Regions from separate parts of the Homo sapiens genome. Here region 2 is linked to region 1. Evidence: promoter capture Hi-C in 16 types of primary human blood cells and fetal thymus (Javierre and others, 2016). All regions are on one chromosome and are shown on one strand. The core of a region is centred on a gene start or on the middle of the fragment in contact, and the rest is flanking DNA. Distances in the headings are between cores, read along the strand shown.

Region 1 (6,154 bases), core at 1,764-4,263:
CGGGTCTTATCTAATGCCTAAGTAGATAAACTGCATGGCTTAAAAATCAGAAAAGAACTGGATGTTTGTACAAGTGACAGGAGGTCTCCACTCAGCAATCTTGCTTCTTTAGGACCCAACTTTATTTCCAGCACTATTGTCAAAACACGTCCACAACACTGACATCAGCTCAGCCCTGCAGAAGTAACTACAAGAGAACCAAGGAACATTAGAGCTAAAATGAATCTTACCTAGCACCTCATTCAAAGTCTTTGTTTCATTAAGAAGTTGAAACACAGGAAGGTAAAGTTATTTTCCTAGGGTCACCACCATAAGAGGGGATAATCAAAGGACTTAGGAGGTAAAACTATAATGACTTGGGTGACTTACTGGACGTAGGCTGTTAGGGAGAGAAAGGAGTAGAGAACAATTGCAAATATTCTCAGTTGGCAAATGGAAGGAATGATGAGGTTGGGTTTGGAACATAATCCCAAAGGACACAATCCCAAACCCCACAATCCCTAATGTTGAAATCCCCATAGATCAAAATCACTAAAGTCTAAATCCCTGAAGTCTAAAGTCCCTAGCAAGTGTGAGGTGTCTGCATACCATCCAGATTAGAGATATCAAGCAGACAGTTGGATATTATAGATTTGGGGCTGAGGGAAAATGACAAAGCTAAAGAGAGAGTTTTGGGAGTCATCAGCCTATTCAGGCTGTTCGAGGCTATTACAGAATGAGAAGAAAGAGAAGAGAAATCAAGAAAGGGGAGAAGCAAGAATAGAACCCACAGAACATCAGTATCTAAGGGGTTTGTTAAAATAAAAAATAAATAAAATAGGAGTTTATAAAGTAGCCTACAAATAAGTGACCAGGGAGATAGGAAGAAAACTAGGATAGAATGGTGTCAGTAAAAGAAACGGTTTTAAGAAGGGAAAACTTTTCAATAATTGTAACACACGTAGCGAGCTGCTTCCCCAGTATTTAAAAGGAGCAGTATGCTGCTCCTTTTAAACAAAACCCTTTTTTCAGACCATCAGTGGATCTGGTAAATAAATAAACAACAATTTCCCAGGTACCTTTGTATCCCAAAGCTCATCCATCTCTGGTCAATTACAGGCAGATGCCTATCTACTTGGGGGGGCTGCCAGGAAAATTATTATTGTCCTCATACAAGTGGCCAAAGAACTGGCACCTCACTTTTACCCTTTGCATTTTCTCCTTTCTTCCCTCCTAAATGATTCTATGCCTAAAGGTGCAGCAGCTGTCTAATGGTCATGAGTACAAAAGATACAAAATAGATGATGGAGAGGAAAATGAGAAGGATCTGCTTCCTGATCCACCCCTTTGAAAGTGAGAAAGTTGGGAGTTGACCTTGGCTCCTCCCTTCATCTCACTTCACTGTGCTCCAAGACACTTCACTCAACCCTTAAATACCCTCAGATCTGCTTCCTTCCAACTCCTCTACCAGCCCGACATTGTTAAGGCCACATCATGTCTTGCCCGGCTTACTGAACTTCTCAGCTTACTGAACAAGACTCCCGGCTTCCAGACTTACCAGCTCCAACCTATGCTCTCACCTGCCGCCCCTTTCAGTCAAACTGGAATGTTTTTGTATTGATCTTTGCTTAAAATACATCAAGCGTTCTTCATTGCCTAGTGGATAAAAAGTCCTTAGTCTCACAGCCTTTATGATTTGTTTGGCTCCTGTCATACATGATGAAGACACTAATTATGATGACAAATATATATACATATACATGTGTACGTGTGTGCATGTGTGTGTAATTTTTGTACACAGACTATGTACCAAGCATTGTGCTAGGAACTTTACGTTTATTTAATCCTCACAATGTTTCCTCATATATTTGGTATTAATCTCATTTTACAGATAGGACGACTGATTCTCAGAGAGGTTAAGTCACTTGCCCAGGAATATACAGCTAGTTTAACTGGGGAAGGCCTGGATGTGAAAATTCTTTCCAGTAAATCAGTGTCTTGACATGAAAGCATGTACCGCTCATCAACCTGTTCTCCACCGCCCTCCTCTATCCTAAATGGGCAGCCCTGTTGAAGAATCACAGCCAAAGCCAGTCTTGCCCCCCGGGGCCAGAGGAATCCATCTGCCCCTGCCTACCAGAGCGGGAGGAACGCAGGCTCTCAATGCCTGCTTCAGCAAGGGAGGAGAGAATCGCCCAGAGCTGAGCGGCGTCGTAGGGTGGTGGTCCTGACCGGTCAAGGCCCCTTCTCCTCGTGAACTGGGGGCCAGGGAGCCCTTCTCCCTGTCCCCCCGGCACCACAGCGCTGTAGAAGTGAAATCCCGGCTCCAAGGTCACCCTCTCCCGAGCCTGGAGCTGGAAAGCCACGGGGACTCCGGGGACTCCCCCAAGGCCCGGACTAGCCTGGCACCCACCCCTCACCACTAACCCACTCCGCCTGGGCGCTGGTTCTGTGCGCTCCCGCGGCGCAGTCGCTCCGCTGCAAGAGCGCTTTCGCGCGCCGCCACCGCCCAGAGCCGGGACCAAAGCAGTCCTCGGGCACCGGCTCCCCGAGGGACACACACCCCCCCGCGCCCCGAGTCGAGGGGTTGAGAGAAGGGCGGTCGGGGAGCCCCTGGGCCTGCCGTCAGTCACCCGGATTTGTAACTGGAGAAGGGTGCGGGTCCCGGAGGGACATCTCCAGCTGGCACCTAACTCCTCGGATCCCGGACTGGGAGCCCGAGCTCGGATATTGCAACGGCTGCCCCGTGGGCAAACCGACCCTGGTTTCCGACTCCGGCCACTGGCAGCCTCGCGCCCCAGACCCTTCCCGGGCACGGAAGCGGGTCAGGTCGCCCTGCTCAGCCTCCGGAACGGCGGCGGCACAAACCCCGGCCGCTCCCAGCAGCCCCGACGAGACCCCGGGCAGCGCCTGCCGCCGGGTGGCCTCCCTCTGGGGCTGACCCCCTCGCGCCCCCGCGCGTCTGTCTGCGTTTCTGAGCCTGCTCTGACAGTGATGTAACAAGGCCAGGCTCGCGCCGCGTCCCCTCTTTCCCAGACTCAGTGCTCCCTCCTCCTCCCGCGCCCCGCGCTCTGCGCGCTGAGCTGGCGCCGGGCTCCGCTTGCACAGCACCGGGACCGACGGGCACTGCTGGGAGAGCCGCTCTCCCAGGTTCCACCTCCCCGATGCAGAGTCCGTGGGGGAAACCAGGCTTTCCTCCCAGAACCAAGGGAGCGAGCCGAGGGGGCAGCTGCTGTGGGGGCTTCTGAGGAGACAGCCTGGCTTCTTTCCCTACTTCCTGGAGAGGGCAGGAAACCTCAGGTACCTCGTTGACCCCAGCCGGAGCGTGTTGATATGAGAGAGAGACGGAGGTTGCAATAGTGAGAGGAAGAGAGGGAGGGCACAAGAAAGGGAGGGAGGGAGAGGGGACGGAGAGAAAGAGTAGAAATAGAAACAGGGAGAGATTGCAAGAGAAACGCAGAGAGAGAGATAGAGAGATTGCAAGAGAGATACAGAGACAGAGATCAAGACTGAAAGTCAAGAAGCAAGTCGGAGACAAAGGGCAAGAGAAAGACAAGAGTTGATGGGTGGGAGCTTGACTTGGATTTTTTTTTAACGCACTGTGGTTTCATCTCTGACAGAATAGAGGAACGCTGCTCCCTGGTCAGCAAGCAGCCCCCAACCTGGATGGAGTGAAACATGCGGCCTGATGACATTAACCCGAGGACTGGGCTGGTGGTGGCCCTGGTCAGTGTCTTCCTCGTCTTTGGTTTCATGTTCACCGTCTCTGGGATGAAAGGGGAGACTTTGGGAAACATCCCCCTCCTGGCCATCGGGCCAGCCATCTGCCTACCAGGCATCGCAGCCATTGCCCTGGCCAGGAAAACCGAGGGATGCACCAAGTGGCCAGAGAACGAGCTGCTGTGGGTCCGCAAATTGCCCTGCTTCCGGAAACCCAAAGACAAGGAGGTGGTAGAGCTGCTGAGGACCCCTTCAGACCTAGAATCCGGCAAGGGGAGCTCAGATGAGCTGGCTAAGAAGGCGGGCCTCAGGGGGAAGCCTCCCCCACAAAGCCAGGGTGAGGTGTCCGTGGCCAGCTCCATCAACAGCCCCACACCCACGGAGGAAGGAGAATGCCAGAGCCTCGTCCAGAATGGGCATCAGGAGGAGACGTCCAGATACCTGGACGGCTACTGCCCCTCGGGCAGTTCCCTCACCTACAGTGCCTTGGACGTCAAGTGCTCAGCAAGGGACAGATCTGAGTGCCCTGAGCCTGAGGATAGCATCTTCTTTGTGCCCCAGGACAGTATCATCGTTTGCTCCTACAAGCAGAACAGCCCGTATGACAGATACTGTTGTTATATCAATCAGATACAAGGCAGGTGGGACCACGAGACCATCGTCTAATCTCTGCCTACAAAGGTGGCTGGATTGATAGAATATGACTAAGCCCAGCTCCCCGTGGAAGCAAATTGCTCTGCTTGGAGAGCCTTCACACTGTTAGAAATTGACCTGGTATGTGATGGGTGTGATAACCTCTGGTACCCGAGAGTCATGTAAATAGGCATGTTGGGGACACATTTTAGGGAAGGGCGATGAGGGTTAAGGACACTGGAAGAGGCAGTGGGTAGGAAAGGAAGCTACTCCAGTTGCTTCTTAACAATTTACACAATGTTAAATGTTTTGTAAAATAACCCAAAAAGTGCTATCCAGAACCAGCTGAGAGCAAGATAAATCTAGAGTGGGCTGCAGATGTGAGGCATCAAATGATGCATGAGCTGACCACAGGGAAACTGAGCTGCTTTATGTTTGAATAAGTTGAAAATAAAATTAATGATCCGTTATATAAAGTAATTTTTGCCTGGTTAAAAGCTTATCACACTTGGTATTTGCTGAAAGAAAAAAAAATCAAGATACAAGAGTTAAACCCTCCTTAGATGGGATGGTTTTTGGGAAAAGGGTAGTTAAAGAGAGTTGGATTATGTAACTGAGTCTTGTGGCATTATTGTCTGACAAGATCATGGTCTCTAATAAAGTAAAATAAGTGTGAGCAGCTATGTGAAAAGTTAACATTTTTAGATGGCTATGTTACTTCTTAAACTCTTCGTTTAAATCCATTTATTGCATCTTTATCTGAAATGGGTTTTTTCTAAACATTTACTATCATTCATGTATTATTTCCTTACCAGGTGCAACATTATTTGAAATGATACTTTCATAGATTGGAATTTGTTTTCATCAAGACAAAATGAATTTTACATATATATCCAAGTCTTTAACATTGGCAGACATGTACTGATAATTACCATTCCTACATACCTTTTAAAATCTGAAAACTATAAAGTCTACACATTAGCCTTGAACATTGCACATAATTTGTATGAAATGCAATGGTTAAACCTTTGGAAGTGTCATTATTTGTACATTTGTTCAACTCCTCTCACAGACTGTAAATGCCAGTGAAACAAGAACTCATCTACTAAATTTAACTGAAGCCTAGATTTTATTAAGCTCACCTGATCAGTGAACATTACATGATAAAAGTCTCTTTATTTCATACATTTTTGCTGCTGAGGAAAACAACAAATCACAATGATATCCTAAAATGTGCTTTCTATTTCACTTGCTCAACTGCAATAGATAAGAAGGCTATCAAGCAGAATGCCATTTGATCCCCGGTGAAGAAAAATATGAATTATATATAGGAATGGTGATAGAGTTCATCTTGAAGATCAGAAGTATTTTGTATCCTTCAAAGAATGATCATTTTAAGTGATCATATAGTCTTAGTCACTTTCTCCCAAAAGGGGAATTGAGGACAAAAATTTGGGCATATATGTTTTGTGTATTTCAATTCCAACTCTGCAATTCTTTCTTAAGTATAGCAATTGTTCTGTCTTAAGAATCATGGTATTTTTAAAAAATCATAATTTTCAAGTCAAGTTCAAGATCAAAAATATGTAATTATTTTAGTAGGGCTTAAATATCAGAAATGAGATGCATGATCTTGGGCAAATTTTATCTTCTTACACCTGAGTTTCCTACTCTGTGAAGGGAGGGGGAACTGATTTACACTTGATTATTTCTATCATTCATTTTCAGTGTAAATATTCTATGGTGTTATGTCAAAGGCATTTTATATATTGCCAGGAAATGAGTTACAGCAAAATGCATGCCAAAGTTATGAAATTTATGA
Region 2 (6,154 bases), core at 2,353-4,852, 140 kb before region 1:
TATATGATTCCTTGAGCATATGTAGGACACATTCTCCAGGGTATACATCTAGGAGTGGAATTACTAGATTTTACAATATATGCTTTTTCAACTACACTTGCTATTACTAAATTGTTCTCCAAAGTAGTTGTACCATTTTACATACCTAACAGCAGTGTATAAAAGTTCTCACCTCTCCACATCCATTCTAACACTTAGCATTGTCATTTGTTAATTTTTGTTCATTTCTAATAAATGTATAATGATAATGTGGTTTTAATTTGTATTTTTCTGATTGCTACTGAAGGCTAACTTTTCATACACTTATTGACCAACTGTTTTTCCTCTTCTGTCAATTGCCTTTTCATATATTTTTATCTAATTTTTATAGTATCTTTAGGTTATCTGTCTTTTCTTTAATGTATAACAGTTCTTCATATATTATGGATTTGCTTGCAAATAACTTCCCCAGTCTGTGACATGTCTTTTAATCTATTTTAATGGTGTCTTTAATATATATTTTAAAATTTCAATCTTATCAAATTTTTCCTTTATGCTTTTTTTTTTTTTTTGAGACAGTCTTGCTCTGTTGCCCAGGCTGGAGTGCAGTGGCGCGATCTTGGCTCACTGCAACCTCTGTCTCCAGGTTCAAGTGATTCTTCTGCCTCAGCCTCCCCAAGTAGCTGGGACTAGTCTAGTCAACTGTCTTAATGATTTTCACAATTTGATTGCAGATTATCTTGGGTGGTTGTTTATGTAATCCTCTATAAGTAATCATATTTAAAGTGTTATTATTTATCATTCTATTTTTAAATACTATCAATTGTGTATGCATGTTTTTATCTCTTCCTTTTAGATAACCAATAGTATTTACTTTTCCACCTTGCTTTTCTTGCTTAAAAATATATCTTGGAGATTACTCTGTAGTAGTTTATAAAGAGATTCCTTCTTATTTTTGATAACTGTAGAGTTATCACTTGGGTGAGTATACCAGCCACCCATTGACAGGTATTTGAGTTGTTTCCAGGCTTTGCTATTTCACACAGTGCTGCAGTGAAAAGTCTTATGTATGCATCCTTTTTTTTTTTTTTTTTTTTTTTTTGGTCAGCACATCTTTGGGATAGATTCCTGCAAGAGGGACTAGTGGGTCAAAGAGTAAATGCAGATATTATTTCATCGGTATTTGCCAAGTTCTATTCCTTAGTTGTTGAACCATTTTTCATTCCTAACAGCAATGAATGAGAGGGACAGTTTCCCCAAGCCTCAACAACATAGCATGCTGTCAAATTTTTGAATTTTTGCTGATCTCATAGGTATAAGACAGTATCTCGCTGTAGTTTTAATTTCATTTATCTTATCATGGATGACATGGAGTATCTTTTCAACCAAGGGGAATTTGCATTTATTTTTCCTGTGTATTTGTTCATATCTCTTATTCATTTTTCTAAGGTTGTTAGTCCTTTCTCCTCTTTTTAAATAAGATTTTAATATGTTAGGGATATTTACCCTTTCTGTAATATAAATTGAAAGTATTTTGCCAGTTCATCACTTATTTTTTCATATCACTGTATATTTTACCTTTCTTATTAAAATATTTGTTCTCTGGACAAAGAAGTCTATGTTGGTAGTTTTTTATTTCTTTCAATATCATGAAGTTATCTTTCCATTGACCTCTGGTTTTCACTTGTACTGGCTTTTCGCATCAGCTGTTGATCAGATTGGTGCTTTTTTGTTGGTAATCTGTCCTTTTCCTTTTGTTATATTTAAGATTTTCTCCTTGCATTTCATTTTCTACAGTTTCACTACATGTTTCTGGAGGCAGATTTATTTTCTTTTTTTTCTTTCTTTCTTTTCTTTTTTTGTTTTTAGACAGAGTCTCACTCTGTCACCCAGGCTGGAGTGCAGTGGTACAATCTTGGCTCACTGCAACCTTCACCCACGGGGTTCAAGCAGTTCTCCTGCCTCAGCCTCCCTAGTAGCTGGGACCACAGGCATGTGCCACCATGCCAGGCTGGTCTCGAATTCCTGACCTCAAGTACTCTGTCCACCTCGGCCTCCCAAAGTGCAGGGATTACAGGCATGAGCCACTGTGCCTGGCCTGGAGGCAAATTTCTCTTTTTATTCTTTTAGCTTCATTTGACCCTTTAGGCTTATTAAATAGTAAAATTGAATGTCTTTCATTAGTTCTCTGAAATTCTTTGACATTATCTCTTAAAATATTGCCCCTGCTCCATTTTATCTTTTTCTTTTTTATACTCCAGTTATGTGAATGTTAGACCTTACTTTATCCTCTATGTTTCTTAGTCAATATTCTGTACTTTCCCTTTTAAAAATTTTCTTTAGGTTTCATTCTGTATATTTTTCTCTGACCCAGCTTCCAGTTTACAATTTTTTTCTTCAATTTTATGTAATCCTCTGTTAAACCCATCCATTCAGCTCTTCATTTTACCTATTGTATTTTTCAATTTTATAATTTCTAGTTGGTTCTTTTTTAGTTTTACAAGGTCACCTCTTATGGTTTCTATGACTGCACTGATATTTTTAAACAAAGCATTTATATCCATGAGCATATTAGTACTGTTGTTTTACAACATCCGTCTGATAATTCTGGTATTTGGACTCTTGTAGCTCTTGTTTTTGTTGTCCACTGTTTTCCTTAGTTCTGGCTTGATTTGTCTTGAGTCTCATTTTGCATTATAGTCTTTCATAGCTTGGTAAAAAAATTAAAATTATATTTATTGATAGTTTGAGACCCAGGATGGTGTTATTTTCCTTCACAAAGGATTTTACTTTTTTTCACCTTTAAGACACCTGAGTATATTAGCAGTCTGGAACCAATATTTGAGGGTTTGGCAGGCTAGAGTAAAATCCATAAACCATGCTTCCAGGTTGCAGTCTTTGTCTCAAGCCAGAGCAAAAGATACTATATTAGGGCCTCTGTCTTTGAGGGAGATGAACACCAGTTCCTAAACTTGCATGCATCTGAGTAATCAAAAGCTTAGCTCTGTGTCTGCTGCTTCCAGTCCATTGCCAAAAAGCCTCAAAGCCAAAATGGCAGGCCTTGTGGTTCCAGGATACACAGTGGGTGATTTCCCAAGATCTCAGTGAAGCTCTGCCTCAGCTTCCTTTTAACTATCAGCAAATCCTCCTTTCCAAAGAGATGTTGTTTCACCTCTTTGAGCTCTAATTGTTGTCTTAATTCCTTACTATCTTGTTAGATTCTAATGTTTGTAAGAAAGTGTGTGTCTGTGTGTGTGTTTTGTTCCACTTTTAAAATTGTCTTCAAGTGGGAGATTTGATTGAAATCATCTGCTCTGCTAGCCCTGGAATCTGGAATATGGGCTAATATCTTAATGGGGGAGACCAAAAATAAATAAACAAGTAAATACATATTATGTCAGGTGGTGATAAGTGCTATTGCGAAAACTAAGGCAGAATAAGGGAGATAGGAATGCCATGGGTGAGGGAAAAAGTTGTCAGGGAAGATCCTTCTGAAATTATGACATTTGAGTGAATAGCTATGAAAAGTGAGAGAGGTAATTGTTCTATGTAACTTTGGGGGCAGTGTGTGTGCAAGAGGGTAGGTGGCAAGAGATAAAATGATGAGGTGAGGGGGTAGCTGAGGGCAAAATTATATAGGGCCTTGCAGGTCATTACTGTTTCAGAATTTTACTGTGAGTGAAAGAAGGAGCCATTAAAAGTTTTGAGCAAAAGAATGACTTGATCTTACCTGCATTTGAAATAGATAACTCTGGCCTCTATGTTGAAAACTGATTGTAATGAGGTAAAAGAAGAAGTGGGTCCAGCTGGGAAGTTATTAAAATAATTCTGGTGAGAGAGTGAGATACGACGGAAGCATGGACCAAGATAGTAGCAACAGAGGTGGTGAAAGTGTTCAGATTTTTAATACATAGTATTTTGAAGGTAAAGTCAACAGGATTTACTGATGAACTGGATATGTGGTGTCAGAGAAAGACAGGAGATAAGGTTTTAGCCTGGGCAACTAGACGGACAGAGAAACCATTTCCTGAGATGTAGAAGACTGTATAAAGAGAAGACAACAGCAGAGACATGGGGGATGTTAGTGGAGAGTCAGGAGTTTGATTTTGGACAGGTTAATTTTAAGATTCCCTATTAGATAGATTTCAACTGGAGATTTCAGTAGAGGCCGAGTACAAGTCTACAAGTTAGGAAAATAGGTCAGGGCTAGAATTATAAATTTGAGGCTCATTGGTATATAAATGCTTTCAAAGCTTAGGGACTGTGAATGGTGTTACCTAAGGAGTAAGTAAAGACAAAGAAATAAAAAGATTTTAGGGCTAAACTCTGCAGTGTTCTAATACTCAGCAATCAGTAGATAAGAAGGACCTGAACAGCCAGTGGCATAGAAGGAGAACGAAGAGAAAGTGATGCTTCAAGCCAAGTGAAGAAAGTGATTAAAAAATGAAGCGTGGTCTGGCCGGGGGCAGTGGCTCACGCCTGTAATCCCAGCACTTTGGGAGGCCAAGGCGGGCAGATCACGAGGTCAAGAGATCAAGACCATCCTGGCTACAGTGAAACCCTGTCTCTACTAAAAATACAAAAAAAAAATTAGCCGGGCGTGGTGGCAGGCACCTGTAGTCCCAGCTACTTGGGAGGCTGAGGCAGGAGAATGGTGTGAACCCAGGAGGCGGAGCTTTCAGTGAGCTGAGATCGTGCCACTGCACTCCAGCCTGGGCGACAGTGCGAGAGACTCCGTCTCAAAGAAAAGGGAAGGGAAGGGGAGGGGACAGGAGGGGAAGGGAGGGGACAGGATAGGAGGGGAGGGAACGGGAGGGGAGGGGAGGGGAGGGGAGGGGGTGTTGTCAACCAACAGTTGCTGAAAGTGCAAGTAAAGCCATGGATTGAGCAATAGTGAGGCCAAATTTTAGAAAAGTAAATCTAAGGAATAAACAGCATTTGAAAACATTGGCATTAAAATGACATTTGTTCTTTTGAGTAAAATTTAAGAAAAAGAATTATAATGGGACCCTCTGGGCAACAGCAAATAACAGCCTTCTTTGGTATCAACTTGATAGACAGAAGTATCTCCCCACCCCTGCCGTGAAAAATGCTCAACAGTTTGTCACTTTATTTGCAGTATTATTTCTTTAGTCTCAGAAATAGCTTTGTACCCTTTGACTTCTAGATTATTTTTTATTTTTCATTTTTTCATATTTCATCAAATACTTTCATATATGATGATATGGTGGCAGGTGGGTATTAGGTAACTTTTGAGCTCTTATACAAAACAAAAGAAACATTTGGAATCTTCAAAGAATACAAACAAGCTTGCATGTCTACAAATTCTGAAACATTTTCCCAAATAATAACACATTAATAAAACCTTAAGTACTTTAATTATTTCTAAATTTTATATATATATATCCAATTAGTTCTTTCAGTCTTTGTTTTAAACATAATTTATTTTCTCCACAGAAAACATTTATTTTTTAGTTATCATACAGAATGGGAAATTCAATTTTCTTTCATCAAAATGATTTCCTGATGTCGTTCAATTTAAAAATTTTAATATGACATTAAATATGTTTAAACTACTTAGGATAGTTAAAATTAGAAATTGTTTCATTTTCATTTTTTATTTTTTTAAATAAGAAAAAGCATTTTATGGTGTGAATATTTTTGAGTGCATTCATATGAACATAGAAAAAATATAAACATTAAACTGCCATTTCTTGTTTTGAGGAAGGAATGATAGTGGGAATGAGAGTCATGGGAAAGGAGAACATTGTTGGTTTTTCTTTTTTATAACTTTTATTTTAGGTTTTGGGGTACATGTGAAGGTTTGTTATATAGGTAAATGTGTCACAGGGGTTTGTTGTACAAATTATTTCATCACCCATGCATTAAGCTATTACCCAATAGTTATTTTTTCTGCTCTTCTCCCTCCTCCCACCCTTCACTCTCAGGTAGACTACAGTGTACAGCATCTGTTGTTCCCTTCTTTGTGTTCATAAATTCTCATCGTTTAGCTACCACTTGTAAGTGAGAACATGCAGTATTTGGTTTTCTGTTGCTGCATTAGTTTCCTAAGGATAATTGCCTCCGGCTCCATCCATGTTCCTGCAAAAAACATGATCTTGTTCTTTTCTATGGCAGCATAGTATTTCATGGTGTATATGTACCACATTTTCTT

What was found. Contacts are between HindIII fragments. The CHiCAGO score rates a contact against its expected background, and 5 or more counts as called.
Region 2: a contact is called between a fragment that was not itself captured here and the fragment with the promoter of TMEM215 in region 1, in 2 of 17 cell types (M2 macrophages and M0 macrophages). The highest score is 7.2, in M2 macrophages.

What each region holds. Positions count from the first base shown.
Region 1 is chr9:32,780,527-32,786,680 of GRCh38, forward strand. TMEM215 (transmembrane protein 215) reads left to right here and starts at 3,014. Exons shown (of 2, transcript NM_212558.3): 1 at 3,014-3,279; 2 at 3,600-6,154. The coding sequence starts at 3,658. The coding sequence ends at 4,365. It overlaps LOC105376017 (a long non-coding RNA gene), which reads right to left and starts at 2,380. Exons shown (of 7, transcript XR_929559.2): 1 at 2,117-2,380. The HindIII fragment of the contact is 4,873 bases long and covers 1-4,828 here.
Region 2 is chr9:32,636,754-32,642,907 of GRCh38, forward strand. No RefSeq gene overlaps it. Among named protein-coding and RNA genes, the nearest start is that of TAF1L, 4.2 kb to the left of the region's middle. The HindIII fragment of the contact is 1,256 bases long and covers 2,975-4,230 here.